3 separate regions of the Homo sapiens genome follow, and regions 1 and 3 are each linked to region 2. Evidence: promoter capture Hi-C in 16 types of primary human blood cells and fetal thymus (Javierre and others, 2016). All regions are on one chromosome and are shown on one strand. The core of a region is centred on a gene start or on the middle of the fragment in contact, and the rest is flanking DNA. Distances in the headings are between cores, read along the strand shown.

Region 1 (3,765 bases), core at 918-3,417, 600 kb after region 2:
ATTTTTATTTTTTTTGGAGACGGAGTCTCTCTGTCACCCAGGCTGGAGTGCAGTGGCGTGATCTCGGCTCATTGCAATCTCTGCCTCCCAGGTTCAAGCGATTCTCCTGCCTCAGCCTCCTGAGTAGCTGGAATCACAAGTACCGCCACCACACCCAGCTAATTTTTTGTATTTTTAGTAGAGACGGGGTTTCACTATGTTGGCCAGGCTAGTCTTGAACTCCTGACCTCAGGTGATCTGCCTGCCTCAGCTTCCCAAAGTGCTGGGATTACAGGCGTGAGCCACCGCGCCTGGCCATGTATTATAGATTTATTTATGGTGGCATGATTCCTGTCTGCAACCCCAAGACACACAGTACTCTATACCCCAGGATGGCAGGGACATTGTTTTGTTCACTGGTCCATCCCTGTGGGAGGCAGTAAAATACACATTTACTCAATAAAAATGACTCTGTATGTGGTGTGTCAGACTGTGTGTCCAGATGTCTTGGGACATTCTCTGGCAGCCTTTGCTGTTTGTGTCTTCAAATCAGACCCTATCTTTAAATCTAACATGTCTCCTGTGAGAAGCCTGGTCCCTTAATACCTTTGTGGCTCTACAACTCTTCCCTCCTTGACTGTATCTCTTCCTCCAGGTCTTTGCTGTTTTCCTGAATCACCTTATCTAAAATAGCATCTCCTTTTCTCCATCATAAGCCCAGGTTTTGTGGGGCTGGGGGCTTATTTGCTTTTGGAGACCGTCTTCAAGAATACAAAAGATAAACACAAAATTACATATAAAAGTGAGTTTTGTTTTTTTTTTTAAGTTTCGGATACCACGGCACATTACTGGAATCTTGGAGACTGGCTTCTCTCCCTTTTGATCTCCATGCACAACTTACCTGAGATGTATTCTAATAGCAACCTGGCTTCCCCTCCACACTCAGCCTTTCAAGCGCCCATTAGCTTCGCAGTAAATCTCCCACACTAGGTATCCAGCCTTTGCCTTTTTCTTTTTTCTTTTTTTTTTTCCAGAGGGAGTTTCGCTTTTTTTTTTTTTTTTTTTTTTTTGAGACGGAGTCTCACTCTGTCACCCAGGCTGGAGTGTAGTGGTGCGATCTCGGCTCACTGCAAGCTCTTCCTCCCGGGTTCACGCCATTCTCCTGCCTCAGCCTCCCGAGTAGCTGGGACTACAGGCGTCTGCCACCATGCCCGGCTAATTTTTTTTTGTATTTTTAGTAGAGACGGGGTTTCACCGTGTTAGCCAGGATGGTCTCGATCTCCTGACCTCGTGATCCGCCCGCCTCGGCCTCCCAAAGTGCTGGGATTACAGGCGTCAGCCACCGCGCCCGGCCGGGAGTTTCGCTCTTGTTGCCCAGGTTGGAGTGCAATGGCACAATCTTGGCTCACCGCGACCTCCGCCCACGGGTTCAGGCGATTCTCCTGCCTCAGCCTCCTGAGTAGCTGGGATTACAGCCATGCGCCACCACGCTCGTCTAATTTTGTATTTTTAGTAGAGACAAGGTTTCTCCATATTGGTCAGGTTGGTCTCGAACTCCCGACCTCAGATGCTCTGCCCACCTCGGCATCCCAAAGTGCTGGGATTACAGGCGTGAGCCACCGCGCCCAATCAGCCTTTGCCTTTTTCTCCTGTCCACAGAGACCCCGCAAACAAGCGCATCAGAGGATCTGGGTGGTGCGAGAGCCTCCTACAGCAGCCAGGTACACACAAGGCCTCAGTTTTTCCATCTGTGAAATGGGTACGTGGACAGACCTGTCCAGTAGCCTCCCATGTGAGAATCCTCGGACTGAGAGGGTACTAGGAGGGCTAATACAGCGCAGCCCTGTGATTCCCCACCTCTGTCCCTGGAATGAAGGAAATCTGGGTGTTAGTTCTGGCTTTGCCGATGCCTCTTGGGTGGCCTGGCTGAAACTAATCTCTCCTCATCAGGCCAGAAGGGAATCTGTGAAATGGGCTTTGAAACCTGCCTTGCCTTTCTCCGCCCGGTCCCAGCGGGGGTCCGATCGGCATCAAGGCTTCACCCACTCCCAGAGCCTTCGGGATCAGCCCCACCCCATCAGCAGGACACAGCCCATGCCACTGGAAATCTCGCGAGAATCCCGCGCTGAAGCGAAGTCGAGACGTTTGACCTTCCTCCGTTTCCGTAGTTCCGAGTTGCGGTTTCTCCGTTAGTGCTTCCGGGTTGCAGCCAGGGAAGCCTCCGCGGTGGTGCAAGTGGAACCCAAGCCTTGAGGTTTCAGTGAGTAGGGGGCCGACGTGAGCTTTAGCGTCCCCCTTTAGCCTCCCTCTTCGATTCCTTGAAGACCCTGGTGCAGCTTAGCAAGAGGGCCCAGGATTTTTGGATCCCCAGCCCTGTGACAAGGGTTCCTGTCCAGTTTCCCCCTCCCAGGATTTCGACTCAGTTCAGCGAAGTCACCGCCCCGTCTGAGAAATGAGGACACCAAGGCTTAGAGCACAGCCCCGAGGCGCCGTCTACCAGGCCCCGTCCCCTCCCCCGGCTCCTGTCGGTCAGCACTGAAACCCCGTCCCTGCTCCAGGCCTCCTTCTCTGGGGTCCAAGGTCCCATACAGGCCTCTGCCTCGGCCGCAGGCCCTTCAGTCACCGTCGCCTCGTCTCCCTGACTGTCCGCAGGCCTGGGCAGCATGGCCGTATTCCGGTCGGGTCTCCTGGTGCTGACGACGCCGCTGGCCTCCCTAGCCCCTCGCCTGGCCTCCATCCTGACCTCGGCGGCCCGGCTGGTGAATCACACACTCTATGTTCACCTGCAGCCGGGCATGAGCCTGGAGGGCCCGGCTCAGCCCCAGTCCAGCCCCGTGCAGGCCACGTTTGAGGTTCTTGATTTCATCACGCACCTCTATGCTGGCGCCGACGTCCACAGGCACTTGGACGTCAGAATCCTACTGACCAATATCCGAACCAAGAGCACCTTTCTCCCTCCCCTGCCCACCTCAGTCCAGAATCTCGCCCACCCGCCAGAAGTCGTGTTGACAGATTTCCAGACCCTGGATGGAAGCCAGTACAACCCGGTCAAACAGCAGCTAGTGCGTTACGCCACCAGCTGTTACAGCTGTTGTCCGCGACTGGCCTCGGTGCTGCTATACTCCGATTATGGGATAGGAGAAGTGCCCGTGGAGCCCCTGGATGTCCCCTTACCCTCCACGATCAGGCCAGCTTCCCCCGTGGCCGGGTCTCCAAAGCAGCCGGTGCGTGGCTACTACCGTGGCGCTGTCGGTGGCACGTTTGACCGCCTGCACAACGCCCACAAGGTGTTGCTCAGTGTCGCGTGCATCCTGGCCCAGGAGCAGCTTGTGGTGGGAGTAGCAGACAAAGATCTGTTGAAGAGTGAGTAAGAGGGACCCTGGACTAGGGTGGAGGATCCCCAAATCTCCCCACCCCCGACCCTTATGCCGAGATCAAGGAAGGGTAGGGCCATTCATTACTTCCCACCCTTCCCAAATGTCACAGTGGTTGACACTCAATTGGTGCTAAGGCCATTTTGTCAAATGAACAGCTTTCTCAGCATGTGGTCCAGTCACCACTCAATCAGAATACCCCAAATGTGAAGCAAAGGGATCTGCATTTTAGCAAGTTTTCCAGGTGATACACCCTAATGAGACACTGGGAATGAATGGGTGAGTGAGCTGCAGGTAGCAGTGCCACAGACAGGAGGAGGAAACTCAAGCATGGCATGGGTCTTGGAATTTTCCATCTGCCTCTGATGCCCTCTGGCACTGCTCGTTCTCTGGAGTGGTTTCCTGGTGGCTT
Region 2 (4,115 bases), core at 307-2,806:
GATCAGGAGAAACAGGCAGGAAGCTACTAGAAGCTGGCAGAAGAGAGTCAAGAGAAATTTATAGGAGGCCTTCGGGAGAATTAGAGCAAAGACTCTCAGGAGAATTCAGCAGACAGGAACCAGAAGAACTAAAGAAACTTTCAGAAGTGGGCAGAAGAGAGCCAGAAGAACTGGGAAAAACACAATTTGGAGAAATAGGAGAAACGAAAAAAACAGGAAATGAGATGGAAAAGGAATATGAATGAAGCCATCGGTAGAGATGAGGATCAGGAAGCTGGTGTTCAGAGGGATCATGGGATTTTATTAAACTGGATTTTCAAGCGATTTGTCTGTTATAGGAAAAATGAGGGTTTTACTTCTGCTGCTTTCCATCACTATTTTGCCATTAAATAGGTGTCTTTCACTCTTGCAAACCCTGAGTCTGTCACTTTGCCTCTTCACCCCTGCCCATTCTTGGAAGAGCATCGTGGAAGAAATGAGAAAGGTGCCAAGAAGAAAGGGTTTCAGGAGGGTGAAGATACGGGCGCTACAGGGAACAAGAAGTCACAGGGAGGAGAGGGGAAGGCCTGGGAGGAGAGGTGCTTCCCACACACCGGTGACTGACTGAGTCCCTCCAGTGCGCAGGACAGCGGGGAGGCTTTATGGATGGAACAGTGGTGGGGCGGCCCCAGCTGTCACAGGTAGGAGAATGCCGCAAGCCAGAACCAAGCGAATGCTGGGAGTGAGGCCAAAGATAGGGGAGTGGCCTGGGAGTCGGGAGGGCAGACAGACTCCGCCTCTGACACCTCTGGGTGGCATAATCAGGTAAATCAGGCTCTCCAAGCTGGCTTCTCCTCTGAACAATGGGATACCTGCCTCAGGGGTTGCTGCGAGGACTGAGTGCTTAGCACAGCACTTGGACAGGAAACTCAAAAATCCAACGGAGCTCTCAGTGGTTTCACAGAGGAGGTGGCAGCTGAGGATCTGGCCTCAGAGGATGTTAGGATTTCACTCCGTTACTCATCTGTCCCTTTGGCCATTGCCATCCTGGTCTGTCTCCACAGCTCCTAGAAGGAAAGGTCGGGGCTGAGACTGACTTTCGGCTGGCACAGGGCCTGGACGAATGAGGCCAGTGAGGCATTTCAGATGCAGAGTTTACCGGAATGCCAGCAAATTGCATGATAATATTTTAATCCAATGTGGTAAAAAAAAAAGTTTTTAATTAATGCAAAAGTCCATGATGAATAAAATATCAAAAATTAAAGACAGGATCCGACTTTGCACGACCCTGCCTCACTCACTTCCTGCTAATCCACGGGACCGGGGAGGGTGACTGAGTTACCCCTCAACACGCAGAAAAAGCTAGTGGCCGCTCAGCTCGCAGGCGCAGTGGGTGGGTGCGCGTGGGGAGCAGGCGCGCGCAGGGGGCGGGACCGGGCCGAGGTTCCCGCGCGCGGCGAGAGTTTCGGGTTTTGGTTCGCAGCGCCTGCGCGCAGAGGAGACGGCCCGCCCCCAGCCCGCCCGGGTGCCCGCTCCGCCCCCCGGGCTATGTAAAGCGGCCGGGCTCGGGTCGTGCCACCGCTGGACTCCCGTGTCCCTCCGCGCAGGCGGGCGGCCCCGGAGCGCTGGTGCCGGCAGAGGCGGCGACGGTGGCGCCCCTCCTCATCATGGTGAGAGGCCGGGCGGGGCCGGGCACGGGGTAGCACCAGGGCGGGAAACGAGTGTCGGGGCCCCTCGGGAGGAAGCGTCTTGCAAACGAGGACCCGGGGCTCCGGGTTCGACTTCCAGTTTTCTTGGTACTCAGGGCGGCCCTGAGGTCTGGGAGAAGCGGAGGGGTTTTGGGGTGCCGGAGAGGCCGCTGTAAAGGGAAACGGTGGTGTTTCTCAGGAGGGAACTCGGGACCGCAGAAGCTGCTGCGCCTCTGGGAGCCTGGGTGGGCCTGGGCCGGGAGCCCGGGAGCTGCTCCCGACCCCACGCAGGCCCGCGCTGGGGCAGCCGCTTCGGCGCCCCCTCCCCGGGCCCAGTCTCATCACGCGGAACCGCTGCCCCGCGCCCGGGTGCGGGCGGGAGGTGGAGCCAGTTCAGAGGAGGGGACCCTTTACGGTAAAAGCTGCCGTCCCTTGTGGCTTCTAGAAGATAGGAAAACAAGTGGCTCCGAGAGGCGCTTCTGACACACAGCACAGCGGCGGGTAGAGCTGGATCCTAATTGCAGGTGCCCTGTGCTGCCCTGTTCTGGACAGGCACAAAGACCACGACTTTGTGGGGGCCGGGAGAGGGTAGAGGAGGAGGTGGCAGGCTTGGTGAAAGAGGGCCTTTGTCCAGTGCTCTCCTGCCCTGCCCCCCACCAGCCCTTCTGTGGGACCATTGTACCCGCATGCCAGACAAGAGAGTATTATCTGTTGCGGCCATTGTTGGGGGAAGGGAGGCAGTCTTGGGGTAACCCTTCTCCACTCCCCCCCTTCTCTGTGCACTCAGCCGTGGCAGCTGTGGCTTGGCCCAGACACAGAGACCCCCACCTCCAAAGAGGACGTCCTTAGTAGGTGCCAAGCATATAAGAGTGAGGCCAGTCCCAGAACCGCAGGCTCCTGGCGCGCCCCGCATGCCTCCAGCACGTTTACCTTTCCGAAGTGGCAGGAATGGGGAAAGCGCACGCTTAGGAGAGCTTCAGACAAGCTTCCCTCTTCCTCCTCCACGACCAGAAGCGGAAAGGTGCTCCCGGACCGAAAGGGAAAGAAGGTCCAGCACTGCCCCGCTTGGGAAGGCACCCACAACCAGTCTAGGGACTAGGGGTAAGGCCGGCGGGGAGCCCGCGAATGACCTGGGCTGACATCTCTTCCCCTCCTTACACAGAACAGAGGCTTCTCCCGAAAAAGCCACACATTCCTGCCCAAGATCTTCTTCCGCAAGATGTCATCCTCAGGGGCCAAGGACAAGCCTGAGCTGCAGTTTCCCTTCCTTCAGGATGAGGACACAGTGGCCACGCTGCTAGAGTGCAAGACGCTCTTCATCTTGCGCGGCCTGCCAGGAAGCGGCAAGTCCACGCTGGCACGGGTCATCGTGGACAAGTACCGTGATGGCACCAAGATGGTGTCGGCTGACGCTTACAAGATCACCCCCGGCGCTCGAGGAGCCTTCTCCGAGGAGTACAAGCGGCTCGATGAGGACCTGGCTGCCTACTGCCGCCGCCGGGACATCAGAATTCTTGTGCTTGATGACACCAACCACGAACGGGAACGGCTGGAGCAGCTCTTTGAAATGGCCGACCAGTACCAGTACCAGGTGGTGCTGGTGGAGCCCAAGACGGCGTGGCGGCTGGACTGTGCCCAGCTCAAGGAGAAGAACCAGTGGCAGCTGTCGGCTGATGACCTGAAGAAGCTGAAGCCTGGGCTGGAGAAGGACTTCCTGCCGCTCTACTTCGGCTGGTTCCTGACCAAGAAGAGCTCTGAGACCCTCCGCAAAGCCGGCCAGGTCTTCCTGGAAGAGCTGGGGAACCACAAGGCCTTCAAGAAGGAGCTGCGACAATGTAGGTGGCAGGTTGGGGCCTTATAAGCCCACCTTGCTGGGCACAGGGTGCTGCGGGCAAAGGACCATCATTGTACTCAAAGGATGGAGCACGAAGCAGCAGGAGGCAGAGAGAGGCTCACCTCAGCGGGGGCAGGGGCAAGCGGTGCGTCCCAGTGGTAGCCTTGGGGAGTTGGCAGCACATTGGGAACACGGGGGCTTCCCAGAGCGCCTTTCCTCCCACCACACCTATCCTTCTAGCCCTCTTCTCTCCGACACCCTTTTCCCAGCCTGAATGTAGACCACTGTCCCTTGTCTTGGAGGTGGGAAAAACAAATTACTGTAGTAACAGGAAACATGTCCTCTTCTAATGTAACCTTAGAGGGGGAATCAAGCCCAGTGTTTTCCAACGCATTTTTAGCAGCAGAATCATGTTCCAAAAAATAATAATAATAATCACATGAAATTGTAAGCTGCAAAAAAATTAAAACTAGGACTATTGTGGCTTCACTGGGGATGGTTCTCAGGCCTCGGACTGCTCAATTTACTCATGGGTTTGTGGCATCTGCAGCTCCAGAGGACACAAGTCTCACACTTAGGCCAAAACCCGTTTTCAGATGGAAAAACATGGACCC
Region 3 (4,313 bases), core at 452-2,951, 540 kb after region 2:
TTAGGCCAAACTAGACTTTTCCTTAAGATACCACCTCCAAGCCCACTCTCCTTGCCTGACCCCTTGTAGCACAAAGCCTCTGAACTGAACTATTAAATCTCATCTACTCATTATGTTCTTTTTAAAGCAAATAAAATAGGAGTTGAGGACTCAAGTTGGACTTTTCAGTCTGTCTGACCACTTTCACTATATATGATTTTTTAAAAAAGAAATCACAAGGGTTGTGGATGCCTTTAAAAAATATGTATCTTAATGCTCTAAATTCCTGCTGATTTCGCTTTGTGTATATGCTGAGGAGGCCTGCCTCCAACGTGCTAGCCCATTTAACATGAACAGTCCTCCCCAAGAAGCATTCAGTAGCCTTGTGCTCCTAACTTGTGACCTTGTGTGTGGCGTGGCTCCCCACTAAGTGTAAATTTGTGTTTTCAAGCCTTCCGAGGACGAAGTGGTAAGATGAAAGCTGGCGTTGCCTTCGTGTTTATCCGGGCTTCTCTCTTCCCATCCTTGTGATCACTCTGCTGACCCTGCCACACCCTGGGGCCATACACATGACTCCTGTGCCTCTGCATCTCACTGGCCATTTCAAACCAGTTCGTGAGCCTGTGTTCTAAAAAGCTCATCTCCATTAACTGCATCTCATGTCGGTCACCTCTGTCTTTGTTTCATTGACTTTGCTGATTTAACACCTCTGAGAATGGCTTTGAAAGGAGCTACAAGTAATGTCTTCACTGGCATTCTTGAAGTGACTCCTCTTGGGGGTTAAGTCCCATTGGCCTCTGCCTTCCTCTCCTGTGATGTTGTGGTTGATCTACTCCCAGCCACCGGGAGTAGCCGTTTCCTCCCTGCTCCTCCTAGTGCTTGTGAGCAAACCTTACCCTTCCTCCCTGTCTGAGCCAGCCTCTTCCTGCTGCCCTCCTCAGCTTGATGATGCTTCAACTTAGAAGTGGTGGACCCTTCTCGGGGTCAGCTCTACCTCCATGTGACCCAGGTGAGAGGGAGACAGCTTTCAAAAGGAGGCTTTGCCTTCCAGATGCATCCCAAAGGAAATAATCCATCTGTGTGAAAGGAGTTCATATTATATCAGCCACATAGAGAATAACGGAGACTGGAAAGCAAATTGGCTAACTGTTCAGGCCACATCTCGAGTAGAAGGCCCTCTGGCTCAGCAGTAATTCACTTAGCAACATACACTCTTTAAACTGGGTTTTTAAAACACCTTGCTGCACTGTTTGCATCTTCCCCCAGCACTTCTCTCTAAAATGCCTAGACCCACAAACCATACCCTTCCCTTCCTGACTCTCGGTCCTCTCTAGGAGGGCAGTGGGATGGGAATGGGAAAGCCTTTGCTGTTCTGTGTAAACACAGGTAGGGCCTGCTCTTCCTGAAGCCTAGAGAGGCTCCTTTGCTGGCATCAAAGAGTGTCTGTGTTCCTGGACTGCTCATCTATGCAGTCCCTGGCTGAGCTACCTGGCAGGGATGGGTGGGGCGTGCTCCATGTTAATGAGGAGCCCAACCCTTTCCCTGGCTCACTACCTCCAACAACACTGCCTTTTAAATGTTTTCCTAGCCGAGCACCCACATTGTCAGAATGGTCTGACCAACTATTGTGTACCAGCGTTCTCGTTTGTAGCCATGTCCCAGGAGGTTGGACATCCAACAAGATAGACTCTAATTCAGCCTCCCCAGTCTCTGGCCACCCAGCTCACTCAGGGATTCAGCTACCCTTGGCTACCCAAGTAGTCTAAACATTTTATCTTTATCAGGCACATATACAGTCTGGTTCTCTGTAGCCAAATTTAGATACCCATGACATTTATCTAATGATTTCAAACCAAACAGGTTCCTAAAAAAACATTCAGCCTACTTCTAGAACTTCCCCATTTTGCTTGGCTGTGAAAATGTATTTGTCCCATGCAGGCCCTTGCTCCAGCCCAGTGGAAGCATTAGTACCTCTTCCTAGCGGGAACTCAGTCCAGCTACACACCAGAGCCAGGCCAGTGGTTGTCTGGGAAATCTTCAAAGGCCGTGACCACTCAGCAAGGGTCAGTGGCACCTCTCCCCACTGTCTCCTCACCAGGTGCATTCATCCCATCCATCCATGCATTCACTCACCCTCCGTGTTGTCCAGCACTATGTATAGTGCTGCAGAAACAAGAAGAATATAGTGCTTGCCTTCAAAGACCTCCCAAAGTGGGGAGATAGTCTGGATGACAGGTGCTGTAATAGAAGTGTGCCCCGGATGCTATAGGAGCACAGAAAGAGGGCAACTGATGAACACTGGGGTGAGAGTGGAAGAGGAGACCCTGGAAGACTCCCTAAGGAAGTTGTCTTACTCTGGTCAAGCAGGAGGCCCTGTAGAGGGAGTGGTGCAGACCCACCAGCATATGCAGCTTCACAGGGGCAAAACACCTGTAGGTCCATCACGTGTTGGGGACTAGCAAGTATTCAGCTTGGCTGGAGCAGAGGCAGGAGTGGGGAACTGGGGACAGGTGAGACTAGAGGTTGGCAGAAACCAGCCATAGTAGTTTTTGCCTCATTTGGACAACAAGGAGCCATCCAAGAGAGAGCGGTGAAGCTGATGGTGACACAGCCATGGCGCATTGAAATACCCCCAGTGGCTGTGTTGTAGGGTATATTGGGTTGGGGAGGGACAAGGTCAGGAGGCATAGACTCGACATCATCTGATGTGATTCAGGACAGAATGGCGAGCCTGAAGTGAAGTGTCTGTAGGATAAGTTGGAAAGGAAGGAACCAATATGAGATATTAAAGAAGTGAAAGCTATAGGTCCCAGTGCCTTAATAAAGGTAAGGAGTAAGAGAAGATTCGAGATTGACTCCCAGACTCTCCAGTCTGCTGGACATGGGAGATGGAATAGAAGTTGATCTCGGTGTGGTCAGAGGAGAGCAGTTACTGTGTTGAGCATGGAGAGCCTGTCGTTCCCCAGGAGAAGGAGTACAGCTGGCTGGAAATAGGCAAGGCAGAGATGGAGAGATCCACCTTGGAGTCACTCCTAGGGGCGACCCTTGAAGCCCTGAGTAGCAATCCCACCAGAAAGATGCAAGGGCTGAAGCTGAAACTTCAGAGAGCATCGGCATTTAAGGAAGAACCTTGGCTGGGCGTGGTGGCTCACGCCTGTAATCCCAGCACTTTGGGAGGCTGAGGCGGGCGGATTGCTTGAGCCCAGGAGTTTGAGACCAGCTGGCCAACGTGGTGAAACCCCGTCTCTACTAAAAATACATAAATTAGCTGGGCGGTAGTGGCATGTGCCTGTAATCCCAGCTACTCGGGAGGCTGAGAGAGGAGAATCACTTGATTCTCCTGGGAGGCAGAGGTTGTGGTGAGCTGAGATCGTGCCACTGCACTCCTGTCTTGAAAAAAGAAAAAAAAAAGGAAGAACCTCGATGGAGACTAAAAAGAACTGTCCAGAGAGGTAGGAGGAAAACCAAGGGATGGCAGGTATTTCAAAAAGGAGGAAGAGGCTATGGTGACAGACACTGCAGGAGCATGGACAAGGGCACAGAACATCTGTTAGCTTTAACAGCTGGGCCAGGCGCGGGGGCTCACGCCTGTAATCCCCAGCACTTTGGGAGGCCAAGGTGGGTGGATCACCTGAAGTCAGGAGTTTGAGACCAGCCTGGCCAACATGGTGAAATCCCATCTTTACTAAAAAATTAGCCGGGTGTGGTGGTGCGTGCCTGTAATCCCAGCTACTGAGGAGGCTGAGGCAGGAGAATTGCTTGAACCCGGGAGGCAGAGGTTGCAGTGAGCTGAGATCGCACCACTGCACTCTAGCCTGGGTGACAAGTGAAACTCCGTCTCAAAAAAAAAAGTAACAACTGGGAGGTTAGGGTGACCTTACTAAGTAGAGGCATTTTGTGGAGGAGTGAAGGTGGAAGCCAGGGTGCAGTAGGGTGAGGACTGGCTGGGCAGAGAGGAAACTGAGGCAGAAGATGTGGACAGGGACTCTGCAGCGATTCATGGTTGGTCATGGCCGATTGATACGGGCGTGTGCTGAGTGGCAGACTCATAAGTGCTGAGCTGGATTTCTCACCCAGTCCTTGCTTCTCCTGAGAACACCTGCAGGAAGCTGGGAATGAAGGAGAGAAGGCAAGGGTAAGGCCTGGAAGCGAGGCTTCTCTCCTGTCCTGCAGTTTATTCGGTGGGAGAAACTTGAGGTAGAATAAAAACACTGAAGGGATTGGCTGTAAGGGAGCCCAGTGGTCACTGCCCTCCCAGCCCATAGGAGTAGAGATCAGCACTCCTGGGAGCCATGGACTTCTTCCTCTCAATGCGGGCCCTGGGGCGGCAGCCA

What was found. Contacts are between HindIII fragments. The CHiCAGO score rates a contact against its expected background, and 5 or more counts as called.
Region 1: a contact is called between the fragment with the promoter of COASY here and the fragment with the promoter of CNP in region 2, in 2 of 17 cell types (total CD8 T cells and activated CD4 T cells). The highest score is 6.3, in total CD8 T cells.
Region 3: a fragment that was not itself captured here is called in contact with the fragment with the promoter of CNP in region 2 in 2 of 17 cell types (fetal thymus and endothelial precursors); the score reaches 5.9 in fetal thymus.

What each region holds. Positions count from the first base shown.
Region 1 is chr17:42,559,981-42,563,745 of GRCh38, forward strand. It overlaps COASY (Coenzyme A synthase), which reads left to right and starts at 2,168. Exons shown (of 9, transcript NM_025233.7): 1 at 2,168-3,342. The coding sequence starts at 2,643. RefSeq lists enhancers at 2,244-2,493, 2,504-2,693. The HindIII fragment of the contact is 14,901 bases long and covers 1-3,765 here.
Region 2 is chr17:41,965,239-41,969,353 of GRCh38, forward strand. CNP (2'',3''-cyclic nucleotide 3'' phosphodiesterase) reads left to right here and starts at 1,557. Exons shown (of 4, transcript NM_033133.5): 1 at 1,557-1,649; 2 at 2,830-3,502. The coding sequence starts at 1,647. It overlaps ODAD4 (outer dynein arm docking complex subunit 4), which reads left to right. Exons shown (of 12, transcript NM_031421.5): 12 at 1-1,265. The coding sequence ends at 245. RefSeq lists enhancers at 830-929, 2,031-2,588, 2,589-3,146, 3,147-3,704 and silencers at 1,300-1,739, 1,870-2,059. The HindIII fragment of the contact is 2,895 bases long and covers 1-2,650 here.
Region 3 is chr17:42,508,142-42,512,454 of GRCh38, forward strand. It overlaps ATP6V0A1 (ATPase H+ transporting V0 subunit a1), which reads left to right. Exons shown (of 22, transcript NM_001130021.3): 19 at 431-448. Among named protein-coding and RNA genes, the nearest start is that of MIR5010, 3.9 kb to the right of the region's middle. The HindIII fragment of the contact is 5,404 bases long and covers 1-4,313 here.